Regions from separate parts of the Homo sapiens genome. Here region 2 is linked to region 1. Evidence: promoter capture Hi-C in human tissues and cell types (Jung and others, 2019). All regions are on one chromosome and are shown on one strand. Each heading gives the region's core, a stretch centred on a gene start or on the middle of the fragment in contact. The rest is flanking DNA. Distances are from core to core; before and after follow the strand shown. Region 1 holds the start of COX11 (cytochrome c oxidase copper chaperone COX11). Region 2 overlaps STXBP4 (syntaxin binding protein 4).

Region 1 (4,740 bases), core at 765-3,264:
TGCTGTAAGAAAATTAAACTTTGAGAAATCTCATCCTAGAAGAGCTGAGAATCTGGTACAAGAACCAAGGTGCATGCAGATGAAAAAGATTTTCAAACACTGTCATCACACAATATGAATAAATTTGTAGAATCATGGAGACCTGAAATTTTTGAGACAGTATGCCAGAGTATAGAAAGAAGTCAGAAGGTATTTATATTTTATTGGTTCTGCAATTTTCTGGCCCTGTGACCACAAGTTAATCAATTACTCACTCAAGGTGACCATCATCACTCATGTGGACTACTGCAATTGCTTCCTAATTGTTCTACTTCCATTCCTCCCCCTACCTTTAATCCATTCTCCACAAAGTAATCAATATCTTTTCAAAAATGTGAGTCAGATCACATCACTTGTATGTGTCAAACATTCCAATAGCTTCCTATTACTTTTAGAATAAAATCCAAACCCTTGGACATGGCTTAAAAGGCTGGTATTACCAGGCCTTTGTTACCTGTTCTGACCCCATTTCCTACCACTTTCCACTCTGCTATGTTGGGAACACAGTGGCCTTCTTTCTGTTCTTCAATCATTCTATCTCTTTCCTTCCCCTGGGCCTTTGCTTGGCCTGGAATTGTTATTGAGTAGGTAGCTCCTTATCATCGTTCAGATCTAAACTCAAATGTCACCTCTTCAAAACGTCCTTACTTTACTACCGCTTCTCATGACTGTCAATCATACTATGTTATTACATTGTCTTCACTGCACTGATTGTTATCTGAAATTCCCTTATTTCGGTAACTGTTACTTGATTATTTTCTGAGTCCCTCAGCAGAAAGGACACTCCATCACTGAAGTGATCTCCCGACTTGTTCTGTGCTATAGTGCCAGCAGGTCGATTGGTGTCAGGCCCACAGTTGAGAGGGCAATAAATAAATAAAATGTCGAATGACTAGTTAAAATTTCTCAGGCCTCCAAGTTCCTCATCCACATAGTGGGGATAATTATACCTGCTCTGGCCATTAGAAATGGCCACGTAGCAAGTAGAAATACAGCCTAACTTTTAACTACATTCTTACTATGCCTCAGTCATCATGAAAGACGTTATATGAATATTATTCATTTACTGTTCTGATTTCCATTTTACAAGTAAGGACACCAGGTCTTAGAGGACAAGTAACTGACCTAAGGGCACAGGGCCATGGTGAGGACCCGGGTAAAAATCCAGAACCCCCTAACCTCAGAACCTGAGCTCTTAACTGCTATTTTATAGTTTCTAGAAAGATGCTTCCTTCTAACACAGTAAAATCCGCTATGCTGTCTGCCCCCCTCGAGTTCGTCCTGTGGGACAACTGAAGAAAGCTATTACATCCTCCCACGGGGTTCGTTTCTTTCAGTCTCTCCTTAAATGGCCCTCCTATCCTGGTCACTCTCTCCAGAACAAACTTCAGCGTGACAGCCTCCCTCCTGCTCCAGCTGTGGTGCTTTCCACTGGGCAAGTTGTAAGGGGCATCAGAGCAGGGGAAGCCGACTGCCCACGGGCTGAGAAAATGCAGGTGTCGTGGGTGCCCATGAGGGCTGCGGTTAACACAGCAAGGCTTCCTGAGAGAGGTGATACTTGAACTAAGTCCAGGGCAGTGAGCACAGGAGCCAGCGGCCAAGGGACCCCAGGAGAAAAGACCGCGGGAGAGCGTCGCCGGGGCTGCCGGGTCGAGACAAAGGCTGGTGGAGTTTAAATAAAGATCACAGGCGCAACCCCAAGTGATGGCAAGCTTGCACGCGGACGGGCGAAACGCATTTTCCTAAATGTTAAGAGACGTTCTGGCGAGAAGCGAAGTGGGAGTAACAGTCACAAAGCAAAACGCAAACTTACCCGTAATCTGGCAACCCGGCCTCCGTAGCCCGACTGCAAGCGCTGCCACCTGAGGAGCCTGGTAGCCAAGGCAGCGGCAGGCTCAACCCAGATCTCGCGAGACGGAGCACGCCTCGCGAGATTTGACCTCTCGTCCCTGAGAGGCGGGTGGGTGTTAGTTCAGAGGGTTATGGGAGGGCTCTGGCGTCCTGGATGGAGGTGCGTTCCTTTCTGTGGCTGGCGCTGGATCCACCCTGGGTCTCCAACCAGGGCTGCAGAGAGGGTAGAGCCGTTTCTTAGGCCAGAGTGGAGTGGGACAGGAGGTGCCGAGAGAGGACTGAGGTGGCTTGGGACATGGAAGCGCTGCAGCCTTCGAGCCCGGCATCCAGCATTGCAGCCGCCGCGGCGGCCTAAGAGCTCGAACCCTTTCACACGCGCGCAGGAGGAGGAGCGGCGGCGGCAGAACAAGACGACCCTCACTTACGTGGCCGCTGTCGCCGTGGGCATGCTGGGGGCGTCCTACGCTGCCGTACCCCTTTATCGGCTCTATTGCCAGGTAGGGGCCGGCGCCGCCCGCAGGGTGGCGCAGACGCGAGAGGTGGGGGTGCAAGACAAATCCCGGGACAAGCCCTCGCTCTGCGGGTCGTAGGTGGAAGAGGTTTCCGATATTATCTACCTAAGAGGAGAGAGGTTCAAAACAGTCACTTAACACCCAAAGTCACCAAAGAAATTGGTGACAAAACTGCAAGTAGCATCCAGTTCTTAGTGATTGTGCTTATACCATGCTGCAGAGTGAAACCCCTGATCTATGAACTGCACCTCGCCAAAAAAAAAAAAAAAGGTCCGCAGCCTCTAACCGGGTATCTAGCAGTCTGCCTTACCCTCCTGCGCACACACGCTTTTAAAATGTATTATTCATACATTCACTCTGCAAACCACATGTGGTTTATGTGCCAAGGGTAACTCTGGAAATTGGACTACTCGTGTTTCTTGGGCTTAAACTGGGATTAGCAGTTCCTCCGTACAAAGAGGCATGAATTAGGCCTTTGAGGCTCTCTCGCCCCACCCCTGTTAATATATAACTGTAATGTACTTAACCTGGAAACTGTTAAGTACATTGCAACGGTTCTGGGAGTGTGGCGCCCAGGACCGGCAGCATCAGCATCACCCGGGAACCTGTTAAAAGTGCAAATTCTAGGGCCCGACTCCAGGACTGAGTCAGAAACACGGGGTGGGGGGGTGGGGCGGGGAGAAGAAGGGGAGTGGGACCAGCACTCTATATTTTAGTTAAGTCCTGTAGTTGATTTTGAGGGCAAGTTTTGAGAACCACAGGCAAAGACAAGTTTCACGTATTTTAGAGATTTCTCCTTTGTTCTTAGCTAATAATTTGCAGCTTTGGCTGGCCATTAGGATCACCTATGGAGCTTAACGTTAAATACACGTTCCAGGGATCCCCTACCCCAGAGATTCTGGTTAGGAAGTCTAGGGTAGGGACAGGAATTTCGGTTTAAAAATCATGCCACAAGTGATTCAGTAAGTGTTTAAGATAGTGGCTCCCAAAATTCATTGTACAGCAACATTGGGAATCACCTGGACAGCTTCTAAAAATCCACACACATTACCCATTTTATCACAAGGCCACAGTGGGAACCAGGCATCAGTAATTGTCAAGTATGTTTTAGGTGATTCCAGCGTGCAGGAAAGTTTGGGAATTGTTTTTTTAACACCATGACTGGTATTCTTAGCTGGAGTTCACTCTTTCCGTGTGTGTGTGTGTGTGTGTGTGTGTGTGTGCGCGCGCGCGCACGTTTATTTATTTAAATTTGTAGAGACGAGGTCTCCCTATGTTGCTCAGGCTGGTCTCAACTCCTGGGCTCAAGTGACCCTCCTGCCTTGGCCTCCCAAAGTGCTGGGATTACAGGCGTGAGCCACCATGCCCGTGGAAATCAATTTACCTTTCTTTTAGATGATGAAGCAGAAGACAAAAGGACTTTTCTTTTCTGGCATAGTCTCCTAATGCCAGCATTTATGTGGGAATGTGCAATAGTTGATTTTGAGGATGAGTATAGAATGTGAATTACTTTTCATCAGAGACCAAGCCCAAGCATGAATTCTAAAACTACCAGTTGGTTAAATCATAAGCAGAACTGAATCCAAATCAGCAAATCTAGATCCTTCTCAGACCGCCAGGAGATTTTTGCCCCTCAGGGAACATTTAGCGATGTGTGAAGACATTTTTGGTTGTCACAACATGGAGGTGGGGGTATAGGGTGCTACTGGCATCTAATAGGTAGAGGCTAGGAATGCTACTAAATAACCAACAAAGCACTGCCTCACCCCCAAACAACAAAAAATTATTCAGCCCAAAATGTCCATAGTTCTAAGATTGAGAAACCCTGCCCCAAACTGAAATAACTGATAATATTGCGTGTGAAATGTGCCCACATGCAATCATAGATCAGGAAGCCAAATGTAATTTGTAATCTATCAGGTTCTTAGAGCTAGTAGCACAACTAGAATAGAGACCAGGACATCTTTTTAGTGCTGTTTTCTAGTCTTTTTGTCTATTTTACTTTAGGCATTGAACTTAGAAATTTGAACCCATATTCAAAGACTATATTGGAATCTTTATTGAGGGAGGACACTTAAAAGTATTTTTATTTAAGTGACTTAAATTTTTTAGTAAAAGAAGTTACATCTTAAACACAGCACTCAGGCAGAAGGATAAACAAGGATAAAGGCTTGCCCTCTGATGCATCTTTTAGGGATATAATGTAATTCAGTAATGTTGCATGGCAGTCAAATGAAGTTAGTTGACTTGCGTAACAAACAGAGAATGCTAAAACACTGTATCTTGCTGGGAGTCTTCCCCTAGCCTCAAATTTGTTTTTTGTTTTTTCTTCCTAGCA
Region 2 (5,036 bases), core at 2,342-4,841, 190 kb before region 1:
AGAGCAATCCTCTTCATTCTCCTCTGAGCGAGATAGATTCAGGACACTCATCACGGGATGGATCCAGGATGTAGTCTGTGTTACATGACTTGAGAAGAACAAGAATGCAATTAGAATCTGAAAGACTGTCCTTCTACTCATCCATGCAAGTACTGATCCTGGTGACATTGCTTCTACCCTAGTAAAGTCCCTGTGATAGGAAGCAGTTAGAACTAGATCCAATAGCTTTAATAAGTCTTAGACACATTTTAAGCTTCAATGAAAACCATTTCTTTCTTTCTTCTTTGGTTAAAAAGGAATGCAGGTGAATGCAGCATCTCTAACTCCTTTCGTTTCAGTATCTGACATTCAGTAAGTCAGCAAGTCCAATGACTGCCTTGCTGTAACATCTCTGGAATCTGTTTCTTGCTCTCCTTTTTCAATGAAATAGTCTGGGTCACTGAAATGGTTTGCCTCCCTGCCTCTGCTCTAGTTCTTTTCTAATTCATTCTCTACTGCAGCCAAAGAACTTTCTAAATGACAAATCATACGCTGTTACTCACTTGCTAAACATTCAATGAAATACTTTGTTTTTTTAGCTGCCTCAACAATACCTGCTTTTTAAAATTTTTATTTATTTATTTATTTATTTATGTATTTGAGACAGAGTCCTGCTCTGTCACCTAGGCTGCAGTGCAGCTGCACAATCTCAGATCACTGTAACCTCTGTCCCCTGGGGTTCAAGGAATTCTCGTGCCTCAGCCTCCCAAGTAGCTAGGGCTAAAGGTGCGCACCACCACATCTGGCTAATTTTTGTATTATTAGTAGAGATAGGGTTTCACCATGTTGGCCAGGCTGGTCTGGAACTCTTGGGCTTAAGTGATCCACCCACCTTGGCCTCCCAAAGTGTTGGGATTACAGGCGTGTGCCACTGCACCCCACCAACAATATCTTCTTCTTTCCCATAATCCTTTCCCATGAGAAGTTAACTCTTATTAATTCTAAAAAACCAAATATCCCTTAAGAATCCTCCAATCTGTGCCCATGGTCTTATCTCTTATTAAATCAAATTATAAATGCTTGTTTATTTTTAGGCCTTCCTATTTCATATAAAGCTCCTTAATGGCAGGAACTATATTTCTTATCTCTGAATTTGTGGGGCCTAACATGATCTCAGAACAAATGACCAGCATCCTGAAAAGTGTTTCAGGGAAATAACACAAGCAGAGATGAGAAAGGAAGTACAAAAGATATTGGGTATGTCTAGGAAATGGTGACACATCACGAAATCATGCTCTTAACCTGGTGGATGGTATTTCTTACACTTAGTGTCCTACTCCCAGCCTTTGGCTGGATGAATCTCCTAAATCCACCACCATCTTCCCAACTCTGGAGTGCACGAATTAGGACAAGGATTTGTTTCTTCTCCTTGGACACTCTTTCTAGCCCTGGTTTACCCCACTGCCTTTATCCACCCTAGATCAGTTTCCCTAGCCTTCGTCCTCCCCAAACTCAACCTCAGAAGCAGCATCATGTCTTAGATCAAGTGCATCTGAAGGCCAGTACTTACAACGATTACTTAAGATTGTGGATCTGAAAGTGCCTCCTACATTATAAAGTAACATTTTCCAAAGTATGTTCCCGAGAGTTTTAAATAAATGTTATGTGAAGAATAGCCTGGCACAGTGGCTCATGCCTGTAATCCCAGTTACTGACTTGGGAGGCTAATATGGGAGGACTGCTTGAACTCAGAAGTTTGAGGCTGCAGTGAGGTATGATCCACTACATTCCAGCCTGGGTGACAGAACAAGACCCTGTCTCAATCAATCATCAATCAATTAATCAATGTTATGTGAAGAATATAATTCTACAGTCAAATAAGTTTGACATAATTGAATAGGTTTCTTTACTATAAGATTTCCCAGAGATTTTAATATGCTAATGTGCTCTATGAGTCTCCAAGACTATGTAATATTACTCAAAGTAACATATCTCCGTTAACAAACACAGGGCCAGTGTTCCATAGAACACAATTTGGGAACTATCACAAAAATGCATTCACTTTATTGGCTACTGATTACAATACTGAAAATGTTAGGTAGTACAAATGGTAAGTTCCACTGTTATTATTAGTTTGGTTTGTTTTCAATCCTATAGTATACATTTTGTTCATGTTCCCCCTACACAAATTGTTCAGCTCCTCTGTTTAAATATTAAAAATGTATCTTTTCATGGAAGAAGATTACTAGCGGTTTTATTATGGCATAAAAAGGGTTCAAGTTCTTTAAGAATCAAGGTGAAAGTGACAAGGCCCAGGCATCTTCACAGCTTCAAAAGCTCAGAGTGTGGTTTAGTGTACAAAGAATCATTATTCTCTTGACGATAATCCACATTACTAATATCTCTTTAAAATGGTTTAATGGAATTTCTTATTATGGAGGCTAAATTTACTAAAGTATTTGATTCGGCACAGGTTAACTTCATTTCAAGGCCTTTATAAAGCTGGAGAGCTGCCTAACTTGAAAGTGGTTTTAAAGAAATACTAATGAGTGTAACATGAGAGGGCTGGAATGCCACTGCAAGGTGAAATGAGGACACATCACCCTGTACAAAGTACATGTCTAAAACTAAAATGGAAAAGCTTGATGAGACAGCTTTGCTTATTTTAAAATATTGGTATATATTTTAATACTTTAATGTTTATCAGCACATATTAGTCCAAAGAAGAAACCATAATTTAAATCATTTAAATTCCTCCCTCTCCTTTGAAGTTCCATAATTGGAGGAGATGGGAAGGAAGAAAAACAGGAGCAATTACCTGAGGGTAAGTTCAGGTAGTATGCTTTGCTATGTGACTTTTTATAAATAGTATTCTCATGCTTGACATATTACAACTGTCCATATATGAACATTCCATTAAATTGCTAATTTAAAATAATCAAAAGGAAAATGTCTAAGAAAAAAACGTAGTTATAGACTCTGAACGGTGAATATCAGAAAGTTCTACCAGATGGTCATCTTTGCCAGTAACCTTCATTAAGCACTTTTTAATCAACAAATCACATCTGATCTTACTCCAAATACAAAAGTAATATAAAATTTGATTAACCTTATAACTTGATTAATCTTATATTCACAATATGATTTTTTGTATATGCCTAAAAACACACACGCACACACCTAAGCATCAAATATGCAATTACAACAGCTACTCACTAGAAGAAATAAAACTAAAGCAACAGAGAGACGTGTTCTGTGCTTCAAGCACACATTTCAGACCTGGGTCTTTGTTTAAAACGTCCAGAACCAATGGGACACAGTGCTTCTGAAACTCAGGTAATGCATGTGAAGTGCCTGGCAGAGAGGAGACATTCAATAAATAATCATAGCTAGTTTTATTGATAATTAGGGATTTCTGATTATTGTAAGAAAAATTTGGAATTCTTCCTATGATGCTGGAAGGGGGCCATTTGTGTGTATACCATTCAATTTTATGTCCTAGTGAGCACTGTGGCTAAAGAGCTTTGACATAATCGGTATGATGAGATAATCCCAGATTTACTGGCTTGGAGAACATTCTAGTATTAAAAACATTTCCTCTGTGATTTGTGTGCTTGGTAATTCAGCTGATAAGAGAATAAATCAGCCCTGTTGATTGTTTAATTAATAAAGACCCCATGGTTCATAAAGGGAGATGTTGCTATAAAAAATTTAGTATAAAAAATTTAGAGGTTTGGAAAATAAATGAAGCTTACTATGGAACATGAAAATTTTCCATTTGAACAAACAGTACCTCTGGCAAATTCTCCTAAAGAGACAGTGCATCTGACCTGATTTGGAGAGCAGTCAACAGCACTTCAGATATATTTGAAAATCTCAAAAGCATAATACTATTTGCCTCTGAATGGTTGCCAAATCTGTTGTTGGAAAACAATAATATTCGATTTGGGAAGATAACAGTATTGTGTGTTTTAAAAAATAATATTAGTAAACTGAAAGACACATTTTAGAGCTTATTAAAAAACCTAAGAGAACATGCTTTATATTATTGGCATAGAAATGTAAGTGAATTATTTAAATCCCATTATAATTACCCTCCTTATGTTTCTTACCTCCTAGCTAAAGGAGCAAAATGTTTTCTTTCAAAATAAAAATTAGGACAACCTGTTAAACAAAAAGGATTTAATGACAAAAAGGGCACTTGTTCTGTAGAAATTCATTCTTATAACCGTCTGTGATGATGAAAGACATTCTTTTGTTAATCTTCCATCATAGATGGCACTATTTATACATCATTGTGAATTTGCATATACTATTTTATCATGTTTAAGATAAAGCTGTGGAATAAAGAGCCAAAAGTAATTAACTTCCAGTGTCATTTTATTGGGGGGGGGGTGATAATTGTATGCATATAGTATTTATATAAAACAGAAAACAAAGACAAATAAGTAACTATATGTTAATATAATTTGTTTCAGGCACCAGTAACTTTGAATCACTGGAAAATTTTACAACTGGGCATAAACTGCAAGTAGTAATGACAATAAAAGATTTATACTTAAAAACTAATCCCAATTGAAAACAAATGAGAAGGTAGGAACACAAGGTGAACCTTGTCAATGAGATTATTAAAAAGTAACCAAACCATGATAAAGCAGCATATAATCTTATATAAACACTGGTTATGAGAATAATTACAGATTAGTAATAGGAAGTATCTATTCTAAAATATGTTTAAGAGAAAATTGCAGGCATTTTGTTCCCACTGGTATATAAGGAGTATCCTCTTACATAATTTTGGAAATATGCCGCTAAAATCAAAATAAATATTTCTCATTAGTGAACTTTGTAAATATCACAGAACACTTTGAGCATTTTGTAATTAGGCATTTGGAAATCCAGTGAGGCTCTGATCAAATATTAGCAGGATCTCATCCAAATCTTTACAGTCTAGAGGACAAATTTTATTTTTATTATATATTTATGGTAATTTCTGTTAAAAATCATTTATCTTTTAAAATCTTAAATTCCAATTAATTAAAAATATTTAGGTCTGA

What was found. The method cuts DNA at HindIII sites, captures the fragments that hold promoters and counts their contacts. A contact is called where the count stands out against the background at its distance.
Region 2: a fragment that was not itself captured here is called in contact with the fragment with the promoter of COX11 in region 1 in 1 of the 25 tissues and cell types used here (mesenchymal stem cells).

What each region holds. Positions count from the first base shown.
Region 1 is chr17:54,965,928-54,970,667 of GRCh38, reverse strand. COX11 (cytochrome c oxidase copper chaperone COX11) reads left to right here and starts at 2,014. Exons shown (of 4, transcript NM_004375.5): 1 at 2,014-2,387. The coding sequence starts at 2,022. STXBP4 (syntaxin binding protein 4) reads right to left here and starts at 1,903. Exons shown (of 18, transcript NM_178509.6): 1 at 1,853-1,903. RefSeq lists enhancers at 1,586-1,635, 1,716-1,815, 1,046-1,994, 1,996-2,075, 2,086-2,145 and 1 more. The HindIII fragment of the contact is 12,807 bases long and covers 84-4,740 here.
Region 2 is chr17:55,154,849-55,159,884 of GRCh38, reverse strand. STXBP4 (syntaxin binding protein 4) reads right to left here. Exons shown (of 18, transcript NM_178509.6): 18 at 1-88. Among named protein-coding and RNA genes, the nearest start is that of HLF, 110 kb to the left of the region's middle. The HindIII fragment of the contact is 4,308 bases long and covers 1,438-5,036 here.